Regions from separate parts of the Homo sapiens genome. Here all the other regions are linked to region 1. Evidence: promoter capture Hi-C in human tissues and cell types (Jung and others, 2019). All regions are on one chromosome and are shown on one strand. Each heading gives the region's core, a stretch centred on a gene start or on the middle of the fragment in contact. The rest is flanking DNA. Distances are from core to core; before and after follow the strand shown.

Evidence for each region. The method cuts DNA at HindIII sites, captures the fragments that hold promoters and counts their contacts. A contact is called where the count stands out against the background at its distance.
Region 2: a contact is called between a fragment that was not itself captured here and the fragment with the promoter of SIX4 in region 1, in 2 of the 25 tissues and cell types used here (IMR-90 fibroblasts and adrenal gland).
Region 3: a fragment that was not itself captured here is called in contact with the fragment with the promoter of SIX4 in region 1 in 2 of the 25 tissues and cell types used here (H1 embryonic stem cells and IMR-90 fibroblasts).

Annotation. Positions count from the first base shown.
Region 1 is chr14:60,721,813-60,726,118 of GRCh38, reverse strand. SIX4 (SIX homeobox 4) reads left to right here and starts at 1,768. Exons shown (of 3, transcript NM_017420.5): 1 at 1,768-2,907. The coding sequence starts at 2,045. RefSeq lists silencers at 2,286-2,355, 3,634-3,703. The HindIII fragment of the contact is 7,845 bases long and covers 426-4,306 here.
Region 2 is chr14:60,813,719-60,818,024 of GRCh38, reverse strand. The region is part of intron 5 of MNAT1 (MNAT1 component of CDK activating kinase); the gene reads right to left. Among named protein-coding and RNA genes, the nearest start is that of MNAT1, 81 kb to the right of the region's middle. The HindIII fragment of the contact is 3,774 bases long and covers 207-3,980 here.
Region 3 is chr14:60,632,803-60,637,108 of GRCh38, reverse strand. No RefSeq gene overlaps it. Among named protein-coding and RNA genes, the nearest start is that of SALRNA1, 4.3 kb to the left of the region's middle. The HindIII fragment of the contact is 6,155 bases long and covers 1-4,306 here.

The sequences.
Region 1 (4,306 bases), core at 519-3,018:
TGCCAGCTACTCAGGAGACTGAGGCAGGAGAATCGCTTGAACCCGGGAGGCAGAGGTTGCAGTGAGCCAAGATCACGCCACTGCACTCCAGCCCGGGCAACAGAGTGAGACTCCATCTCAAAAAATAAATAAATAAATAAATAAATAAATAAGCAAATAAATAATATGGCCTTTTCTGTTGTTATAAATTTTAAATCTACCAGCGATGTCAACACATTAGGGTAATGCAAAAACAAGTTAAATCCTACATCAAATGACATCTTGATTGACCAGCAATAAAATAAAGCCTGTCTACAAAAAAAAAGAAAATCTCACCAAGTTTATCATGACGGCAGGTGACCTAGACAGCTGCTTTGTAATATGCTGAAGTAGGCAGCTATGAGTAGCTGGGAAGCATACACAATACAAGGCCACCCTGAAGCAAAGGTTAGGATGATGTCATTAAAATGTTGAATTTTGAGAGGCCGAGGCGGACGGATCACGAGGTCAGGAGATCGAGACCATCCTGGCTAACGTGGTGAAACCCCGTCTCTACTAAAAAATACAAAAAAAAAAAAAAAAAAAAAATTAGCTGGGCGTGGTGGCGGGCGCCTGTAGTCCCAGCTACTCGGGAGGCTGAGGCAGGAGAATGGCGTGAACCCAGGAGGCGGAGCTTGCAGTGAGCCGAGATCACACCACTGCACTCCAGCCTGGGCGACAGAGCGAGACTCCATCTCGGGGGGAAAAAAAGTTGAATTTTGAGAAAGAGCAGCAGCAGGCAAACCCAACTGACCTACAGTAATCAAAGAAGCAGAAATGGATCATCCCTTTTGGAATTAAGATCTTGTGCAAATTACAAAGGAAAGAGACACAACTGCAAACAACAAAAGACTCTACCCCCACTTCAGCATCAAACCAGAGGGCAATCTGTCTATGCTGTGGAAAAGGGCTTCTGATCCTGCACTGATCTGGATGACACCCGCACATTCAGTGTTTCTAGCCTATCATCGTTAAAAAAGAAATACTCATATACTTACATTAAAAAGTTCATGTAGAAAACTTAAATTTCCATATTTAAAGCTTAGATCTCTTCCACACGACTCATCCAGGATAAACTTATGGTTTAATATTCTACATGTTTAATTATACCATGTTCAACTCAGTTGGGTTGCCAGCCCTCCACGTGGCTTAAGGTTAAGTACATTTTTTGAAGGCTTCTTGTTTTTGTCTTCTCAGTGTGCTATTTATGCTGCTAATTATAAGGTTTTCAAGCATTTTTCCCTCTTTGGAATTTTAATTTACTGTAAATGCTTGCCCCTTAGAACATTTCCTAGTGTCATTTTATTTTTGACCGTTTTGAATACAAAATCCTTGATAAAGACATCCAAAAAGAGGGAGAATGGGGAACAGGGACATACTGGGGGGCTTCTGAATTGTCCTCTGAAGTTTTGTCATCTAGATGCTGAGGGTGGTCTCTTTGTTAAAAATTTAACCATCCAGACCTTAAGGCCACACAATTAATATTCCCTCTGGAATTGTAGGGCCTCTGTTTGAAAGAGTTGTCCAGTTTTCAGGCCACATTAGGTAATTTCCCGCCCAGGAGCGTGGCTTGGAAAGAATGTCGGTGTTTTCCTTCAGGTATAGGTGCCTGGGGGTCAGGAGGGGAGGGAAAGGCGAGGGGTGGAGTGGGAGGCGGGTGATCGACAGGGATAGAAACTGTGTCTCCTCCTCCCTCTGAATGCGAAATAGCCAATGAGGTGGCTAGGCCGGGCCGGCCCGGCCGCCACTGCCATATAGTATGCAGCAACCGGAGGAGTCACGTTGGGGGAACGGCAGAAAGCAGCTATCCGTTTACACTACTTTGCTCTAACAGCTATCTTAATGGTGACTGCGTGGCCGGGGGGAAACCTGATCGGCCAGATACAGCCGAAACCAGGAGGGAGGGAGTGGGCTTTCCGGAGGGGGAGAGGAGGGAGGGAGACGAAGGAGGAGGAGTAAGAGAGGAGGAAAGAAAGAGGAAAAGAGTGCGAGGGAGTGAGGGAGGGAGGAAAATAAACAACAAAAAATGTCCTCTTCCTCCCCCACCGGGCAGATCGCAAGTGCGGCGGACATCAAGCAAGAGAATGGGATGGAAAGCGCCTCGGAAGGGCAGGAGGCGCACCGAGAAGTGGCGGGGGGCGCGGCGGTAGGGCTGAGCCCCCCGGCTCCAGCCCCTTTTCCCCTGGAGCCGGGGGACGCCGCGACCGCTGCCGCCAGGGTGAGCGGAGAGGAAGGGGCAGTGGCGGCGGCGGCGGCCGGAGCGGCGGCGGATCAGGTACAACTCCACTCGGAACTTCTGGGCAGGCACCACCACGCCGCCGCCGCCGCCGCGCAGACCCCGCTGGCCTTCTCGCCCGACCACGTCGCCTGCGTGTGCGAGGCACTGCAGCAGGGGGGCAACCTGGACCGCCTGGCCCGGTTCCTGTGGTCCCTGCCCCAGAGCGACCTGCTACGTGGCAACGAGAGCCTGCTGAAGGCGCGGGCGCTCGTGGCCTTCCACCAGGGCATCTACCCCGAGCTCTACAGCATCCTCGAGAGCCACAGCTTCGAGTCGGCCAACCACCCGCTGCTGCAGCAGCTCTGGTACAAGGCGCGCTACACCGAGGCCGAGCGAGCCCGCGGCCGGCCGCTGGGAGCCGTAGACAAGTACCGGCTGCGCAGGAAATTCCCCCTGCCCCGCACCATCTGGGACGGCGAGGAGACGGTGTATTGTTTCAAGGAGAAGTCGCGCAACGCGCTCAAGGAGCTCTACAAGCAGAATCGCTACCCTTCGCCCGCCGAGAAGCGGCACCTGGCCAAGATCACCGGCCTCTCCCTCACCCAGGTCAGCAACTGGTTCAAGAACCGCCGGCAGCGCGACAGGAACCCCTCCGAGACCCAGTCCAAAAGGTGAGCGCCAACTTTCCTCCTCCTCCCCCTTCCTCTCCCCCACCCCCTTCCCGGCTTTCTTTTCCTCCAAGTGCTCGCAAACATGGCGCTTACCTTCCCCACCAGCCTGGTCCGGCTGCCCACCTCTCCCCGCCCCCTACCTCGCTCCCCGGCCGGCAGAGGTAGGGGGCGGCGGAGGCGGGGGGCGGGGGAACCTCCCTCCTTACCCTCCCCCTCTCCCCCCAGAAGTTTCTGGTCGCCCGCCTAGGTCTCAGTCCCCGCCCCCACCTCGGCTGGTCACTGCTGCCCAGCTTCCCACCCCCATCCCGCTGGCTTTGAAGTTGCCACCCTCTCCCCGTTTCTGGAGGGGCTAACGAAGCAAATGTGGACACCGGCACCGTAGCTCTCCCTGCCGCCCGAGGCCCGCAGAGACTGCCGGCGCCGGCCGGGGTCTGCACCTCCGCGAGGTCACACCGGGCCTGGCGCGCGCGCACGCTCCCGGATCCCCAGGGTTCAGCCGCCCCCCGGGCCTGCGCTGGAGGTCGCGGTGGCTGCTCTGGTGAAGGGAAGAGAGTGTTGTGGGACTGGCGGCGCAGAAGGGGTCTCGGAACGTCGAGGTTTCATATGACAGAGTTAATCATTCACCCTGCCCCTATGGTTCCCTTAGCGGCCGCGGCAACGTGGGGTGCTGGTGCAGCTCGGCTCTGTCATGTTTTGAAACCTGATTCTGAACTCCTTAGGATCGGGTTTCAGCGCAGCCGGGGTAGCAGGGCTGAAGGGCTGCTTCCTCCCTCGGCCCCCGAACGCTGCTTGGCTCCCTCCTGGTACGGTAGTTATGGGTGGGGGGCAGGCCGGCTTACGGCGGGCGGCAGCAAAGGAGTGGGGGCGCTCCCACCCCACTGGGTTTGAGCTTTTTGCCTGGCAGACTGCTTTCCCCCTCTGGTAAAAAAAATACCGGATTTTCCACCTCTTTTGTGCGTCCTCCCGAGTCAGACACTTGGTGTGTGCGTCTGTGTGTTTTGTTGGACGAAACAAAGTAAGGAGAAGGTCGCCTAAAGACCTGGTGTCTCCAGCCCCGCGGGGATAGGAGAGAAAGAATCCAAAAGCAGCTCGAAGGTTCTTCTCGGGGAAGCAAACTGGGAGCCGGGGATCCAGCCCGCCTGCGCCAGGTGAAGGTGATCACCAGCGCATTCCAGAGCCGGTCTCAGCCCGCCCTTGCCGCTTCTGGGCCCCTGTGGGGGTCCGACGGCTCGGGCTCCGGCGTTCCTCGCCCAAGGCTGGGAGGGAGGCTTGGTGCCCTATCCGGCCCTCGCGGTAACCAAAACAAAAGGTGCACCGGGATGTGCGTGCGCCTTCCGCAGATATGCGGAGAGGTCCAGAGAAGGCGCTTTGGTTACGCCGAGCCACCTGCCCTGCGCCC
Region 2 (4,306 bases), core at 844-3,343, 92 kb before region 1:
AAATGATATCCAGACATTTTCCTTTCTGAGTTTTCAGTTAAATAAGAATCCAAAAACATATGCAGAAGGACGTACCAGGAGGAAGAAGAGATCTCTCTCTCTCTTTCCTACACACACAAACAAACACACACACACAAACACACAAGCAGAGAGAGAGATTGAGAATTTTCTGTATCATAAACAGAGATGAAGGTCAAATACATTTTTATCTCCTATACCAGGATAATGTGCTAAAACATATTGTTCAAAGAGGCTATAGATGTTAAAATAGTGACTACACAGAATTTGATCCTGAAGAAACTCTATTGTTAACATTTCACAGCACAAAGCAAACATACAGATTTTAATTTTCTTTCCAAATCTAGCAACTTAATAATTTTTTAGGCACAAATGTGGTTAATTAACAGACTTAAAGGAATTGGTTTAAGGTTACAGTATAGAAATAACTCAAATAAGCAACTTAATTCAATAGAATTGTCCTAGAATAAAGTTGCACATCAAGATTTTATAATAGAAGTGTTTTGCAAGAGCAATGTTACAAAGTTTAAAACTTTTAATAGTAAATGGAAGAACACAAATTTTATTTATTTATAAGATGTAAACTTATTAAGGAGCAAAATCATTAAGACCTGGCTTTAACAATAATGAAGGAAAAGTGATGAAATATAGTACGAGGAGAATATACTAGAATACCTTTTATATTCTACACCAAAGCATTAGTAATGCATGAGTAACTGTATTGCTAAGATTCCTTGCAGCTATTCTAGATTTACATTAAGAATTTTATAATAAAATATAAAATTAAAGAACATTTTTAATGGGCTGTGATCAAAAAAATATCTTTTAAAAGCTATTCTATCTTTTCACATGTAGAAACTAACAAAAGAAAAATAAATTTCCTTAGCTAAAAAGTTAAAAGTATTGCTTTTCAATTTATACTCTAAATCAATTCAAGTGCTCTTCTTTAACTGGTATTTCCTTTAAAAAGCAAAAATTCTTACATAAAAGCAACGTATTAACTTCAAAAAAAAAGTTGCTAGTCAAGACTTTAGCTTGTTTTAATCCTGGTTTCACATTCACATAAAAGGAACTGAATGTTAAAGTGTCTTGGTAAACAGCTGAAATCTAATAAAAACAAACATTCTAAGGATCTAAAACACTTTTGATATTGAAGCACAGAATTTAGTTCCAACCTACTTTATTCTATTTTAGCACTCAAATTTTGAAGCCTGGAAGCCTTACTAAGTGTTAAACTAGAATTAAGTAGGAGTTCCAACAACAAAAAATATTAATGGAGTAAAATAAACTATGTGAAACATGCATGCTCTGGGGAATATCTAACATGCAGATTTAGCCTTTCAAGTTATTTCATTCTTTGCATTACATTTTACCTTAAAAGGTTCCCTAACCTGTATTAATTGCCTGAAGGCACACTGTTTAATATTTAAAGAAATTTTAGTAAGAACTGCCTGTAATACTCATTAAAAGCTTTATAATGACCATTTTTAAAAGATTATTTTAACTGACTTTAAGCAAGCCATCTGGCAAACAATATTTCTAATAAAAATCACCTACTGCGTTTGACAACAATATTAGCCCATACAAAATTTAAGACATAAACTGAAGCGAATTTTCAAACAGGAATATAAAAAGATTTAATAAGCCAGGACCTGTTTAAAAATCTTTTTCCAAACTTTTTTAAAATTGAATTTACAGTTAGGATTAAATAAATGGACCTTTTAGCCAACATTACTGCAAATACTAAGCCATAAACATTAAGACCATAACATTAAAATCCCGTCACATACAGTATAATATAATGCAAATACTTTTTAAAAGGTTAAAAAGTGACTTTTGGCACAAAGACCAGAACCAAAAACAGGAGGAAAAAAATTCTAATAAGTAGTACTTGTGTAAATTAGGTCCAGAGATTAATTATAAGAATTAAGCTTCTAGACATATTTACAAATGCTATTGTTTTTTAAACAAAATCTCACACATGAACATATACAGAAAAAGAAATACGTTCTTTTACTTAGTTAATAAGGATTCAAGAGGATAAAAATAAATTTAATGAATTCATTAGTCATAAAAATTTAAAGTATTTTAACATTTATAACATTGTATAAAGACTGAAAAATAAACATAACAAAATCTAAAAATAAGTTTAAAAATGAAAACCAGAAATTCAAACTGCAGTGGTATTCTAAACCAATCTGTTGTAATTAATTGCACTAATGAATACAGTAAATTACTAAGAATTATTTAATCATCATGTTATATGATCTAAACACTGAGGAAAGTATGTGCAGTAATGACTTGCAGGTGAAGAAAACAGGAAGTGGGAGAAAGAACTCACAAAAATCAATATTAACTCCAGATTACACACAATGTACAACAATGGTAGTTTCACATCTTGCTTCATGCCTCACTGAATCAAAGGGGAGCTTCATGTCAATAGCAGCTCAATGAGGCAGCAAAACAGTACTTTAAAGACTAAAAGAATATGCGGCTGGGCGCGGTGGCTCACACCAGTAACCCCAGCACTTTGGGAGGCCAAGGCGGGTGGATCACAAGGTCAGTAGTTCATGACCAGCCTGGCCAAGATGGTGAAACCCCATCTCTACCAAAAATACAAAAAAATTAGCTGGGCATGGTGGCAGGCACCTGTAATCCTAGCTACTCGGGAGGCTAAGGCAAAGAATTGCTTGAACCAGGGAGGCAGAGGTTGCAGTGAGCCAAGATCACGCCACTGCACTCCAGCTGGGGCACAGAGCAAGACTCCATCTCAAAAAAAAAAAGGGAAAAAGAATATGCAAGAATAATTGTTATGCAAAGCTGGCTAACCTCAAAATAAAATCTAAAAACTTTTTTTATTAGATGGAACATAAAATGTTAAAAGCATATTTTCTATCAAAGTTCTATATTTGGGATTAATTCAATTAATTATATAGAAGAGAAGCATTATCCAAAAAAGAGCCTGTAACTCTTTGTATAAAATGATAAGGGGAAGAATCTTTCAATAAAACAATTATAATTAGTAACTATATACTAATAATTAGTAACATCAATTTACTAATTCATTTTTAAAGTTTTTAATTTCTCACCAAACAGCTACAAAAATATAAAATACAACATGTCATTTCACTGTTAAAGCCATACCTGCCACTTAATAGTTTCAAGAAAGAACTAATGAAAGTTGCTAGGGAAGGCGTCATTATTCTATTTAATATGCTGGTGTCCTCATTTTTAGAGCCAAATTCACATTCCAGTCATAGAAAATAGAGTTTTATGACAGTGTTTTCTATCTAAGCCTCATGAATGCCCTTACCCTTATTTTTCCTTTAGTTTCTCACCTCCTTATAATTTAAGTAATCTTGCTTTCTCTTTTTTTACTCCTGGTTAACTGACTTAAATGCTTTTTTGGCAAAAGCACAGTAGAAGAACACATATATACATATTTTCCCCAATCATAGGATAATAGCATTATCAACTAGACAAGAAAGTTAAGTGTATTAACACTGCATACACACACACACACACAAACACAAAAGCCTCAGGGAAATAAATTATATGAACATAAAGGGAAAGAGAAGAATGCAAAAAGACTTTCCTGGAGAGGAAGATTTTCCGGTTTGTGAAGTCATCAATATCATACAGGGTTATAAGTATCAAATAATATAGTAATAAATCCATGAAACACTTCATAAACCTTAGTTATTATTACTGTCATTATCTAACAAGGTTGACTACCTAGGAAGCTAATTGCTGGAAAACAATAATTTGCAAAAACCCCGCTATTTCTTTCAAGCAAAAATACACTATTTTTTTATGCAAAAATATAAAATATATTGTCACAAAGTAAACAGTCAATATAAACTTCAGCATGGAGCCAAAATGAGCTCATTATTAGAAAAATAGTATTAATCAGGAGAAAAGTGCTTCAGAAACAATGTATTTTAGTCAGTTAGCTTAAAGCCATATAAACAATCTATCAAGAATATACTGGCTCATCTCAGTTATAATGTCACTCTCTCATCTGAAAATAAAATGGATATTAAACAAAAATCTTTTTAAAAATATAGAAGTAAAATATACTAGAACCTCATTTTAACATCGTTCTTAGAGTTACACAAAGTAAGTAGTGCCATGTCCACAAACAATACTCTTATCTAGGAAATCACTTTAAATCCTTCATAGTAGTTGGCATGATATAAATAAATAGGCATAAGGGTAAGACAAACTACAATATGAAAATGAAAGTCATTTTCATAATTCTTATCACTAAACTCACATTGGGATAGAG
Region 3 (4,306 bases), core at 679-3,178, 89 kb after region 1:
TCTCTCCTCAACCTTCACGGATGATTGTTTTTTCTTTCTTAAACGTACAAACACATTGTGGAGAGAATTGATGGGGCAATGTCACAGATGCATCGCTGGCACACACAAATTGCATTGGTTTGAGTCAAGTTAACATCTCTGAGCCTCGATTTCCTCTTCGGGAAAATAGGAACTACAATATTTAGACTGCAAGGGAAGCTTAAAATTAGCCAAAGTCTTGAATGTAAAGTGCTTGGCACTATAGACGTTAAATGAATAGCAGTTATAACATGCTTGGAGCCTCCTTAGACTGCCACAAAGCCGCCTGGGAAAATTCCCGTGATGCTAGAGTTTGTAGTGAGGGCAGATTATGGCCATTTCCTCCTTTTCTGGATCACGAAAAGAAACGCAAGTTATTCTATGAAGACATAGGGCTTGATTAGACTTTGAGGGTAGTCAAAGCTGAAATTTAGTTCTTGAAACTGTGAGTCTGGAATCTAGAAGTTTAACTCCAGTAATTTAATTCCGGAAGAATATTTAAATCTGTAATGCTTGGATTTTGCTATCGCTATTTCTCATGATTTGAACTTTTACGTAAATGTCATTATATATGGTAGAATTCTATTGATAAAAAATAAAACCCACTTAAATGTGACGGAAAATGACAAATTACTTAGAAGAGAACTAAAGCATTTAGCTGAGTAGAGAATTTAAGGCCCCACCTAAATGTGTCAACATAAGTGTAGAATAAGAAACTACTTTTAAGATTTAATGTCTTGCTGATGTTAACACAGTGCTGGATATAATGGCACCTGATAAATATTTTTGAGTAAATGAATGGGCTGCTGAAATGATGGAGAGTCTTTAGATAGAACACATTTCCCAGAGTTGAAATTTTGCAAGACCCTCCTGGGTACATTTCTTCTCTTGTGACACTCTAATGATCACCAGGGATGAATAGCTCATTTTGACATATAATACATCCTTCTCTTATTTCAAGGACTTTCTCATTCAGGTATTATTGAAAGCAAAATGCATAGCTGAAATTTTCTTGGGTAAAAGTGGGAGCGGGGAGAGAGGAACAGGAAGGGGACTGTTTCTCCCTAGAATGATGCAGTGGTAGAACCAGAGAACTATTGGTAGGAGGAACAACCCCAGCACAAGTAGATATGAAACCTAGAGAGTAGGTGGAGTATGCCTGTGGTAGGTGTTTTTAAGGATGGATCCTCATGCACTGCAATCCCTTCACAGTTATTTCACTGTTATTACTACTGGAAAGATTTTTTTTTTTTGACAGGCTCTCACTCTGTTGCTTAGGCTAGAGTGTAGTGGCACGATCATGGCTTGCTGCAGTGGCACAATCACGGCTTGCTGCAGCCTTGAGCTCACAGGCTCAAATGGTCCTCCCACCTCAGCCTCCTAAGTAGCTAGGACTACATGCGTGGCTAATTTTGTTTTTTATTTTTATTTTTTGTAGAGATGAGGTCTTACTATGTTGTCCAGGCTGGTCTTGAACTCCTGGAATCAAGCAATCCTCTGCCTCAGTCTCCCAAAGTGCTGGAATTATAGGCATGAGCCACTGAGCCTGGCCTGGAAAACCATTTTTTATTTAGTTGTTTAACACTACATGTTCTTCCATCATCTTTATTTTCTTCAAAAGTATCCTGGCCAACTAAAAACTGTGTATGTTTAAATTTTAAATTTAGAGAAGTTAATCAATTTGTAGTCAATCACCATATAGGCTCAGAAAGAGTTGAACACTTTTTTTTTGTTTGTTTAAAAAATTCTGGGGTGGGGGGAGGGGGGAGGGATAGCATTAAGAGATATACCTAATGTAAATGACAAGTTAATGGGTGCAGCACACCAACATGGCACATGTATACATATGTAACAAACCTGCACATTGTGCACATGTACCCTAAAACTTAAAGTATAGTAATAATAAAAAAATTCTGGTCTTGAACTCCTGACCTCAGGTAATCCACCCATCTCAGCCTGTAATTCCAGCTACTTGGGAGGCTGAGGCAGGAGAATCGCTTGAACCTGGGAGGCGGAAGTTGCAGTCACCTGAGATCATGCCATTGCACTCCAGCCTGGGCAACAAAAGCAAAACTCCATCTCAAAAAAAAAAAAAAATTATGTATTACACTCACAAATTCCTGGAAGTAGAGCTGGAAACAGCAGATGCATGTTTAATAATTTACCTAAAGACTTGTTATATATTTATACTCTGCTTTATGCCTGCAAAATTATACTTGTTTACACACATATTTTTGGCAAATACATGTTCTAATACTACTTTTATTTGCAAAGCAAAGATTTAAATGTAATCAGTACACAGAAATGGATAGAAGATAAAGTGAAACTTCAGGTCCATCACTTTTAAGAATGTGTCTAATAATCGGAGAAACATTTGGTAGGAACTGTGATTACACTGCAGCTTAATTATTTGCATATTGTGAAATGATTTGCATAATACCAGGGCCAGGAGTTCTAAGAATTATATTTTTCTGCCACAACTTTTAACATGACTAGAATAAAATATGTAGTATTTTTTCTTTTTATATTGTTCCAGCATCCAAATGTTTAGAAACACAAAAATATGTCCATGTGCTCACTCGAAAAAACAAAGAGAAATAAGAAAGAGCACTTTATGCTGAGGAATAAGTAAATTTAAATTAGATTAAACTTTGCAGAGGGTTCTTCGAGGAGGTTTGGGTAGATTCCAAACCTTAGCATATCATTCAAGAAATGAAAGGCCTCAGGGCATTCCAAAAGGCATGTCCGCTCTAAATCAGCTTTAGTTCATTTCAAATAAAAAAATATATGACTGAACTTGAAGGCTGGATAAAGAGGGGAGTCTTATTTCTACTCAGCAGATCTATCATGGTGAAATAAAATAACTGTGGAAATCTAGGCCCTTCAATTGTAGAATTTCTTCAAAGAATTTATATATATAACTGCCGAGATAGTAGTTCCTGTTCAATCACTTAGCCTTCATGAAACTGAAAGACTTGTCAGTATGCTCAGAAGTATGGTAACTCTCTTTCTACTGGAAATTAGTTATAGGTAAAATGAATTAGCCCTCATGGAGTGCTTAGAAGATAACATACTAGACGTTTTCAGCATATTTCATGATGCATAACATTTTATGATTTTAATTATAGGTCAATCTCAGATAGCTGACTGGTCTGTCAACTGTTAAAAATATTTTTTCCTTTTGATTAAAGCCCAAAACAATGGAAAATTAAGTCAACTTCAAATAAAATGTAAAAATTTCAGCTGGGCGCAGCGGCTCATGCCTGTAATCCCAGCACTTTGGGAAGCTGAGGCAGGTGGGTCACCTGAGGTTGGGAGTTCGAGACCAGCCTGGTGAACGTGGTGAAACCCCATCTCTACTAAAATACAAAAATTAGCTGGGCATGGTGGCAGGCGCCTGTAATCCCAGTTACTTGGGAGGCTAAGGCAGGAGAATCACTTGAACCTGGGAGGTGGAGGTTGCAGTGAGTTGAGATTTTGCCATTGCACTCCAGCCTGGGTGACCAGAGTGAAACTCCGTCACAAAAAAAAAAAAAAAAGTAAAAATTTCAACATTAGTTAACTGAGCTAAACAGAGAATGTAATGAAATATCAGCTTCATTTCTCAAAGTTCAACTTTTCAGCATTTTATGGTGGCAAACTTGCTGTAAAAACATGCTCATGAAAAATATTGTAATTTGTGATCTCTTCCCCTTTTTATTATTAGATCATGTATAACTTTAGGACAATGAAGATTTTGATATGGATAACTACCTTAAATAGATAATAAACATAGTAAAACAAAAGTACAAAATCTTTGTGGAGATATAAACAAAACTCACAAACAAGACTTAAGATTGATTTTAATCTTCCATTATATTTTTTATGAACAACACGAGCGATTAAGAAAGACCTATTTTCTTTGCTGGTGTTCTCAGCCATACTTCCCTTGAGAAGTATACCAAAGGAAGTATGGTAATGAGGATTAGGAGAGTCAAATACTGCTAGCCAGTGGGTGAACTGTGGATTGTGTTACCTGCAGGAGTGGAGGCAAAATACCCATAAAATAGCCTTTCAGATTCAGTTTGTCTCAAGTTACATTGTGAAATTCAGTGGTTTGCTGCAGTTGTATACCCGCTGGCTCTGAGAGTTAAACAGAATTGGGGTGGGCCAACCCTTGTACAGAGGACATGCAGGTGGGACCAGAGGTATTGGGGTTTGTGGTTTCCTACGGGAAATGCTTTTGGTGATTTCATGCCTCCCTGGGTAGAGTGGGTAAGAGGCAGCAGGTCCAGAGCCTGATCTGTAG